Linked DNA regions of Homo sapiens: region 1 is linked to region 2. Evidence: promoter capture Hi-C in human tissues and cell types (Jung and others, 2019). All regions are on one chromosome and are shown on one strand. The core of a region is centred on a gene start or on the middle of the fragment in contact, and the rest is flanking DNA. Distances in the headings are between cores, read along the strand shown. Region 1 has its middle 310 kb from the start of GRIN3A. Region 2 holds the start of PPP3R2 (protein phosphatase 3 regulatory subunit B, beta).

Region 1 (5,068 bases), core at 381-2,880, 450 kb before region 2:
AAAGGAAATACAAAGACAGCAAGCAAATAAGCATATTTGAAGATGCTAAAATTAAAATGATTGGCCATGGCGAAAATGTTTTTGAGGGTGTGGAGAAACTCACACTGGCATATGCTTCTAGTTGGAATAAAAAATGGTACAATTGTTTTTGAAAGACTGTCGGGGAGTTTCCTAAGAAGTTAAACATAGATCTACCTTATTCTCCCACCACTCCACTTCTAAGTATTTTCCCAAGAGAAATAAAAGTGTACGTTCATTAAAGCACACAAATATACAAAGCAGCTCTATTTGTAATAGTCCCAAACTGTAAACAATTTTAGTTTTTGTCAAAATGTAAGTAAATGTAACAATGGTGATCTACCCATTCAATGGAATACAACTCATCAGTAAATATTAAAAATGAACTGTTAATATAGGCCAGTATGATGAATTTCAGAACAGTTAAACTGAGTGAAAGAAGCCAGACAAAAAGAAGCCAGACCTCCCGCCAAAAAAAATTATACAATATGTTTCCTTTCATTTAAAATTCTAGGAAATTAAAAAGAACTTATAGCAATAGAAAGTAACATCAGTGGTTTCCTGTGGGTGGGTTTAAATGGCAGGATGCAGCAGAAGTGAAGATTATAAGGGGGTAAAGGGAAACTTTTGGTACGATGATATGTACATTTTCCTGATAGTTATGATACTTTTCTAGTAGTATTAATTTGTCAAAACTTATCAAATTGTACATGTTAAATGAACATGACTATTTTGTCAATTATACTTTAGTATAGCTGTTAGAGAGAGAAGGAGTAGGAAGATTAGGAGTTAACAAGGAGGAAAAAGTAAGGTTGCAATTTTAGACAGCTTTTTAAGAGCAGGCCCCACTGGGAAGGTGAGATTTGAAAAAGCCTTTAAAAGGGAAAGGAAGTTAGCTACACTACAGAGGCAACAGCCAGGCAAAGGCCCTAGGGAAAGTGTATGGTTGGCAATGAGGCCAATGTGCCTGAAGCACAGTGAGAAAGGTCTAGCGTACTAGGAGTTAAAGTAAGAGAGGCCACAAATCACCTCTATGCATTTTAAAACTTTGGTCTCTTACTAGAAGTAAGACATATAGCTATTGAAGTTGTTATGCAGAGGATGACACTATCTAGTTAGATTTTTTTTTTAAATTTCTCTGGCTGTTGCATTACGAATAATCTTTACGGGGACAAAAGTGAAAGTAGAGAGGCCAATCAGGAGGCTATTACAAAAATTCAGAGAAGGAATGATAGTAGCTTGAGACAGGATGGCAACATTGGAGCAGGTAGGAACTAATTAGATTCTGCCTGTGTTTTGAAGGTAAAGCCAACTGTTTTTTCAAACGGATTGAAAATGGAATATGAAACAAAGAGAGGAATTTTCTTGAGTTGGTTTTCACTCCCATTCTCTTCCTGGTAATTTATCTATCAAAGCTTTCAATTTTGTTCAACTTCCTGTCAATGTAATCCAAAAAAGACTAACCAGTTCAGTGTAGAAGAAGCCTCTTAATTGCACATTCTCTGTGGATTTGGGCTAAATTTATTTGGCACTGTATTACCACTCAGTTGACTTCAATTGAAATTGCAGAAAAAAGCATTATGTCTGCTAACTGTCTGCTTCTTCAAAAATGTTTTTCTATTTCTTTCATCAATGTTTTGTAGCTTTCATTGTCAAGAGTTTTTACCTCCTTGCTTAAATTTATTCCTAGGTCCTTTATTATTTTTTGCAGCTATTGTCAATGGAATTGCTTTCTTAAATTTAGAGCTAATTTGTTATTGGTGTACAGAAGTGCTACTGGTTTTTGGATGTTGATTTTTTATCTTTCATCTTTACCAAACTATTTTATCACTTCTAATAGGTTTTTGGTATAGTCTTTAGGTTTTTCAATAGATAAGATTGTGTTGTCTGCAAACAGGGACAATTTGACTTCCTCCTTTCCAATTCTGATTCACTATCCATCTATCTTTCTTTCTTTCTTCCTTTCTTTCTTTTTCTTTCTTTCTTCTTTTTCTTTCTTTCTCTCTCCCCTCCATTCCTTCCTTCCTCCCTCCCTCCCTCCCTTTCTCTCTCTCTCTTCCCTTAATTTCTCTGGCTAGAACTTCCACTACTATATTGAATAACCATAGTAAAAGTGAGCATCTTTCCCTTGTTCTAGTCCTTAGAGGAAAAGCTTTCAATGTTTTCTCATTCAATATGATGGTAGCTGTGGGTTTATCACATATGGCCCTTGCTGTGTTGAGGAACATTCTTTCTAGATCTGATTTGTTCAGTTTTCATCATGAAGGCATGCTGAATTTTGTCAAATGTTTTTTTTCTGCGTTTACTGAGATGATTACAGGGCTTTTGTTTCTCATTCTGTTAATGTGATTTGTCACATTTATTGATGTGTGTATGTTGAAATATTCTTGCCTTCCTATTCCTAGGATAAATCTCACTTGATCATGGTATACAATCTTTTTGATGTGCTGTTGGATTTTGTTTGCTAGTATTTTGTTAAGGATTTATACAGCTATGCAAAACTGCGTCAGAGCTAATGACCTACAGTTTTCTTTTTTTGTGGGTCTTTGTCTGATTTCAGTATCAGGGTGATGTTGGCTTCTTTCTAAAGCGAATTGAATATAATATAGAATTGGTTTGTATAAATTACTACCTTTTCAATTTTTTTGAATAGTTTGAGAAGAATATGTGTTAGTTCTCCTTTAAAAGGTTGTGAAATAGAGCTTTGATGTGATCCTGTGTAAGGCTGTTCTTCTTGGGAGATTTTATACTACTAATTCAATCTCATTGCTTCTGATTATTCTGTTCAGCTTTTCTGTTTCTTCTTGATTCGATCTTGGTAGGTTATATGGGTTGAGGAATTTATTCATTTCCTCTAAGTTTTCTAATTTGTTGGCAGATACTTGACCAAAATAGCCTCTAATGATACTTTGTATTTCTGTAGTATCAGTTGTAATGTCTCCTTTATTATTTCTGTTTTTGTAAATTTGGGTCTTCTCTCCTTTTCTTTTCTTAAAAACGGGAAGACATCCATGTTCATGGATTGTGTATTAGTCCATTCTCACACCACTATAAAGAATACCACCTAAGACTGGGTAATTATAAAGGAAAGCAGGTTAATTAATTCACAATTCTGCAGGCTTAACAGGAAGCATAGCTAGGAAGCCTCAGGAAACTTACAATCATGGCAGAAGCAAAAGGGAAAATAGGCACCTTTTTCACAAGGTGGCAGGAGGGAATGTGTGTGAGAAAGAGGAAGTGCCACACTTTAAAACCATCGGCTCTCTTGAGAACTAACTCACTATCATGAGAACAGCACATAAAACCTGCCCCCATGATCCAATCACCTCCCACCTTGTCCCTCCCCTGACATGTAGGGATTACAATTCGAGATAAGATTTGTCTGGGGACACAGAGCCAAACCATATCAGATTGGAAAAATTAATATTGAAAACATGACCATACGACCCAAAGAAATCTACAGATTTCATGCAGTACCTATCAAGATATGAATGGCATTATTTACGGAAAGAGAGAAAACAATCTTGAAACTTGTATGAAGCCACAAAAAGCCCTGAATAGCAAAAACAATACTGAGCAAAAGAAACAAAGTGTGCTCAAGGCATCATACAACATGACTTGAAAATATACTGCAAAGCCATAGTAATCAAAACACCCATGGTACTGGCATAAAAATTTATGTAGACCAATGGAACAAGTTAGAGAGAAATAAAGAATACACAGAAATAAATCTATGTATTCACAGACAACTGATTTTTGACAAAGGCACCAATAACCTACATCGGGGAAAGGACAGTTGTATAAATCATTGGTGCTGGGAAAACTAAATATCTGTATGCAGAAGAATGAAACTAAACCCCTACCTTTCACCATATGCAAAAATAAAACCCAAACTAAAAACATTTAAATATAAGATTAATATTTCATAAATATAAGATTCATGAAACTACTTAAAGAAAACATAAGGGAAATGCTTCAAGACATTGGTCTGGGCAAAGAAAAATATGAATAAGACTAAAAACACAGGCAACAAAAGCAAAAACAGACCAACAGGATTGCATCAAGCTAAAAAGTTTCTTCACCTCAAAAGAAATAATCAGCAGAGTGAAGAGATGACCTGCAAAATGGGAGAAAATATTTGCAGACCATTTATAGAACAAGGAATTAATACTGAGAATACACTAGGAAGCCAAACAACAGCAAAAAAAATCTAAAAATCTGATTAACAAATGGGCTAATAATCTGAATAGATATTTCTCAAAAGAAGACATAAGATGGTCACCAAGTATATGAAGAAATGGTCAACATCACGAATCATTAAATAAATGTAAATTAAAATAATGATGAGATACCACATCAACATAGTGAGAATAGCTATTATCGAAAAGACAAAAAACATGCCACTACCACATGAGCATATGCACATGTGTGGAAACTGTTGCATTGTTGCTACTAGTGTGCATGGATGATGATGCTCCATCACCACACATGCGCATCCAGACATGAATCCTCTCCCACGCTAGAGTACATGTGCATGCTGGCCCCACTTCCACCACCCCACTCAAGTGCTTTTGTTAGCAACCCCCATAAGAGTGTTGGTTGCCTGTGGACTGTGAGCCCTCAGCCCCTCCAGCATAGCAGGTGCTTAATCTTGAGGGGTCAGAGAATAATACAATGCCCTGATACCTGCCGCTTATGGTTAGGGTATGCAGTCAGCAGTGCTAAGCTCAGGTATGGCCACCAGAAATCATCCAGAATGAAACCATTCATCTGAACTCAACTTATACCACAGTCAAATCCTCAAAGGCATCCAGGTATATAAAATAAAATTAAAAAAAAAAAAACATCCAAACCAAGCCAACTTCAAAGTTCAAAGCAACATTATCCCACAGAGATTAGAAAGAGGCAGCACAGGAACCCTGGCAACTCAAAACAACCAGTGTCTCCTTACCTCTAAATGACCACACGAGCTCTCCAGCAATAGTTCTTAACTAGACTGAAATGGCTGAAACAACAGACTTAGAATTCAGAAACTGGATAGCAATAGAGA
Region 2 (5,270 bases), core at 1,794-4,293:
AACCAACCAGTATGAAAATGTTTTTGCTGTTGAATTATTCTCATGGCTCATGAGCCTATAACATAAGATATCAAAACACTATGTTCTATAGTATATGTCAGACTGTCTTTATTTTTTACCATAATCCAAGCAAGAAAATATGTCATATTGCAAACCCAGAATGACCTGGTATTCCTTTATCATATATATACTATATTTAGTTTTACAACTTTATGAAGTAAACTTTTTACAACTTTATAAACAACTTTATGAAGTAATAGTACTTCCCCTTACAGATGATACTTTCTCTTCAATTATCTGCTGTTCTATTTTTTTGATGTTGTTTGTAACTCACTAAACCAACTTCATCACTCACTAATGTGTTGTAACCCACAGTTTGTAAACACAAGAGTGTCTGCAAGTGAGATACCAATTCTATCTACACAGAGGTGAAGGGATATTTTAGCAAATAATAAGATGGACCTGGCACTAATGAATGAGCTAGTGGAGGCCTGTAACTATAGCAGGATCTGTGGCCTATTCAGTTGGCAAAACTGAAGGGAGTTCAAAATGCTTCCTCTCTCCTATAGAGTCAGCACTAATGGACCTGTCTAATGTCCATCTGTTGTTCTGTCTGCTCAGCATTACCCTGTTCTTATAAGGAAGAGCATGTGCTTCTTTTGGTACCTGCTCTTCCTACCCAGCCCCCACTTCCCCCCGACCAGCTCCATCCATGAGGTTCAAATGGAAGCTCCCATATGTTATAAGCCATGTCTGATGGCTCATAGGTGGGAACCCAACCCAAGTGAGACCAATCAGAGCCTGTTCATGGGATTTATGGGCATCTAACTAGAACAGGGAAAAGTCCGTCTTTTCTGATGATAAAATCCCCAAAGTCTTAACTTGGAATCTGTCAGTGGTTGTGTCCTCTGCAATGTGGAAGAATTGCTTTACCATAGGAGAGAGTGAAGGAAAGAGAAGCAGAGGTGAAAGGCACAGAGAGGTCAATGGGCCCAACTCCTTGCAGGGCCAGCTTCATGGGCATGTGGCCCACGCAGTCTCATAAGGTCCCGTACTTGGTTTAATGTTCTGCTGTGGCCATCTTGAAGCTCTCAATCATTTTCAAACAAAGGACACTGCAAATTACATAACTGGTCCTGAGGCGTTGGTTCCAATATTTCCTTAAACCCAGTGGGATCCTCACCCTTCCTAAGACTGAATCATTCAGCTCTTCTTTAGATTATGTGAGATTCTTCCAACAAATTATCTTTCATGTTAAGCTTCTTAGAGGTAGATTCTTTTACTTGCAGCCAAGAAACTGGACTACACTGTGGTCAAAGACACAAGATGAGAGAAATAACACAATTCTAGAGGCTCCCAGCCCCAGTGCATGCCCAAAAGATAGAGTTCTGTCCTTGCCCCTGAGGTTTCTGATTTTTTCAGAACTGCACCTGCAGGGCCTGGATATTTCCCCCAGAGAGTCCAGAAAGGTCTTTGTGCTTTAGAAAGAACACAGGCTATAGTGGTTGGTATCATTTAGAGACCAACACTGATTTTAGGCATCTTGTAATATAATTTAAGGTGGTATCCTTAATATTGCAAATTCAATAGGCTTATATGCAAACTGTACCATGCTCATTTCTCTGAATAACTGAAAAGCAAGCAAATAAATGAAACAAAAAAACATTCCAATATAACAGTCTAATTGGGAAAGGGGGTTTCATTTGTGTAATGCCCATAATCAGCTTTAAAACATATCCATGGATTATCATTTGTTTATAGAGGAAAGTAAAATGGCCAGACTTAATGATAAGGTGATCAGTGGCTTAGTTTTGCTAGTTCCAGCATGGTTATCTTTAGACTGATATTTTGGCTGAACTATAGAACACAGAACTTGCCAACATTTTTTAAAGCGAAGGAGTGTTTGCATCTTTCAGTTTGATGTAGTGGCCTGAGGTTCCCCCAAGTCCCTTTGAACTGTTTGCTCTTGAACCACATTTGTTTCTTATGCATTTGGAGTAATTGATGCGCTCCGAAAGGAAGAAGGAATAAGAGGGAGCATGTGAGATTAGTCTTCAACAGAAAGAACAAATCTAGTTGAAACAAAAGGAGAAAAGTGAGATCATCCAGAGGCGACTGTCACTCTCAACACACACAAAAGGCTTCTTTGGGCACATTGCAGACCTTCCCCCAAGGTATTCTGCAGAATAGCCGCCAGGCACCAACAACAAAGATGTGACTCGGGCATGAGATGATGGATAAGAGGGAACAGAGTAACAGAGGTTGTGTTCTTGAGACCTGTGTCATCTTGAAAAACGCCCTGAATTCAGCATTGTTTATATTCCTCGGGAATATGTTAGTGCCTGTAGGTGATCCATGTAAGAAATTCTGCGCGGTATCTGCCTGGTCTCTTACAAACACTCTGAATCCTACGTCCTGAAAAAGGTACAGAAGGATGTCAATCCCGGCTTCCCCTCCCAGGGAATCGTGGAAAACATACTATATCAATGCCTTGATGTGTCACCTTGTTTCATCCTTACACTAGGTCTGTAAAGCAAGTATACAGTGTCCTTGGTTGCAGTTCAGTCATTCGGCGTATATTTATTAAGCACATATTGCCTGTGAAGCACTGTGCTTCTGGGATACTGCAGCGAATAACACAGGTGCGATCCCTTCTCCTTTGGGGTTTACTTTCTCAGAGAAAAAAAAAAAAGAAATAAGTAGATAAAATAATTGCCAGGGAAATTGGGGTTATCATGGAAAGGTACAAGGAGTTTGAGAGAAGGAAAAAGAGAAGGGGCAGCCCAGCTTTCCACCTCTGCCTCTCCCGGGCACCCCCAGGCTCCATTCTCTCCTCCCTATACTCCTGCCCAGACAGCACCCACCTCCCCTTCCGCCCCCTTTTCCCTCCTTCTTTCCCTCCTCTCTCCGCTCCCTCTCTGACCTGCCGCCCCTCCCTCCGCTCCCCTGCCCTTTTGCTCGACCAGGGCCCCCGGGAGCCCTCTACCCCCACCCCATGGCCCAACCGTCCGGGCACGAGCCCCGCCCGAGCTCACCGCCCCTGCTCCCCTCTCCGACCCTTTGAGCCGTGGCCGTTGCCAGATGTCCACAATGGGAAACGAGGCCAGTTACCCGGCGGAGATGTGCTCCCACTTTGACAATGATGAAATTAAAAGGCTGGGCAGGAGGTTTAAGAAGTTGGACTTGGACAAATCAGGGTCTCTGAGCGTGGAGGAGTTCATGTCCCTGCCGGAGCTGCGCCACAACCCGTTGGTGCGGCGAGTGATCGACGTCTTCGACACCGACGGTGATGGAGAAGTGGACTTCAAGGAATTCATCCTGGGGACCTCCCAGTTCAGCGTCAAGGGCGACGAGGAGCAGAAGTTGAGGTTTGCGTTCAGCATTTACGACATGGATAAAGATGGCTACATTTCCAACGGGGAGCTCTTCCAGGTGCTGAAGATGATGGTGGGCAACAACCTGACGGACTGGCAGCTCCAGCAGCTGGTCGACAAAACCATCATCATCCTGGACAAGGATGGCGATGGGAAGATATCCTTTGAGGAATTCAGTGCTGTGGTCAGAGACCTGGAGATCCACAAGAAGCTGGTCCTCATCGTATGAGCCTTTTTCTTACAAGCACCACCCAACAACTTCTGCTTTCTTCCCTATCTCTTTCAAGATTTGCTCAAGACGTCCAACTGTCTCTCTGACTTATCTGGAAGTATTTCTTTTTGTGAAGCCATATGTCCTAACAGGAGCTTCATCACCAACTCAGTGCTATTAATTCTCCTTCTCTGAATGACTCAGGGTACCCTATAGGGGGAAGAGCAAGTCAAATGAGCATAGTGGGGAAAGAAAAGGAAATGGCTTTTATAAACATCTTTTACTTTGTTTTGATTCAAAGACCAAACTAGAACTTTAAAAGTTCAAAAATAAGAAAGTATACATTTTTGCTGTTATTTCTCATCATTTTGTATATGGGAGGAAATTTATAATTTGCATGGGTGTTAGGTGAACTGTTTTCATTTGCTTGTGTTCAGATATCTTGCCAGATTGTTAACTTCCTATTGTAGCAACAGGGACAAATATATTTGTCTTTGCTGGGCATCTCGTAATCACTTTTCTTAGGGGACAGAATCCCATCTTTTCCTTCGGCAGATTGCAGCCCCATTCCCCACAATGCATCCAGAAATCGCTGTGCATGTTTGAGGGGTAGGAGTTCATTTGGCCTCCTCCTGACTTGTTGCTCCAGCTCCTGAACAGAAACTAGCTTCAGGGCTCTTATAGGAAATGCTAAGCCTGGACTAAGTGCCCAGCTCAGCCATCATCCTCATTAGCAGTGGGTTTCCAGGGTTGGCAGCCCACACCAGCATTAATTTCAATGAAGGGGACCTCCAGCTAAATAGGGCAAGCAAAGTGTTCTCCCAGAAAGTGCTCTCACCTCCGACACTGGTCCCTACCCCCAGGTGGAGACAATGAGACATTTAGTTAGTTGTCCTACGGAGGAGAGGCAGTAGAGTCAGGCTGCAGTGGAATCTCCCTAGGATGCCAAAGTGGCATTATGTCTGTTGCTCACAGATGCAGAGACTGACAATTGTGTCTCCACAGCAGAGGTGGATGCTAGCTACACCAGCTATGCTGATTTTGAAAATCAGATCTGAGGCCTAGAAGAGAAACTGAGAGCTCTCTCATTCCAGGAAGCCTTTTCCCTAGTGGAACATTCAGTGCAGAAGTCCTCACACACTAACAGATCTCCACCATTGGGTGAGCCGGAGCCTGTGGTTCCAGGGGAGATCCAGAATGCATGTGTCTCTTCCCACGCATTTATGTCATGTTGGTAGCTTTAGATCAGCCATGGTGAGAAAAGAACAAAAGCTTTTAGTTGTTTTTGTTTTGTTTTGGAGAATTTGTTTACCAGTAAATACATCACTGCCTGTACCCCAAATGTTACCAGCTCCCTGAGGTGTCCCACATACTATTGTGAGTTCTCAGAGCATGAACTGTCCTCAGAAGAGCAGGGCTAGGACTTGTCCCAGCATCTGTGCCTCCATACCAATCCTCTTTCTCACAGAGAACCACTTCCCATATAAGATGCTTAAGGCTCTCAAAACAGCAGAACAATGAAACATACTCTCCCTACACTTGCTTAGCCAAGAGATACCACTCAGGTAACTTTTTTCAGGACATGGAAGATCTGTTTCAAGGAGATTTACTGCTATTTTATTTGGAAGAAGCTGGCAACTGGTCTTGACCAAAATAGAAAAAAAAAAAAAAAGTCCACAAATTTA

Evidence for each region. Contacts are between HindIII fragments. The study calls those that stand out against the background at their distance.
Region 1: a contact is called between a fragment that was not itself captured here and the fragment with the promoter of PPP3R2 in region 2, in 1 of the 25 tissues and cell types used here (mesendoderm cells).

What each region holds. Positions count from the first base shown.
Region 1 is chr9:102,045,949-102,051,016 of GRCh38, reverse strand. No RefSeq gene overlaps it. Among named protein-coding and RNA genes, the nearest start is that of GRIN3A, 310 kb to the right of the region's middle. The HindIII fragment of the contact is 5,660 bases long and covers 1-4,460 here.
Region 2 is chr9:101,592,742-101,598,011 of GRCh38, reverse strand. It overlaps PPP3R2 (protein phosphatase 3 regulatory subunit B, beta), which reads left to right and starts at 3,043. Exons shown (of 1, transcript NM_147180.4): 1 at 3,043-5,270. The coding sequence starts at 3,091. The coding sequence ends at 3,603. All of the region lies in intron 6 of GRIN3A (glutamate ionotropic receptor NMDA type subunit 3A), which reads left to right. LOC105376186 (a long non-coding RNA gene) reads right to left here and starts at 3,038. Exons shown (of 3, transcript XR_001746863.2): 1 at 2,924-3,038; 2 at 2,504-2,669; 3 at 2,197-2,415. The HindIII fragment of the contact is 7,456 bases long and covers 1-5,270 here.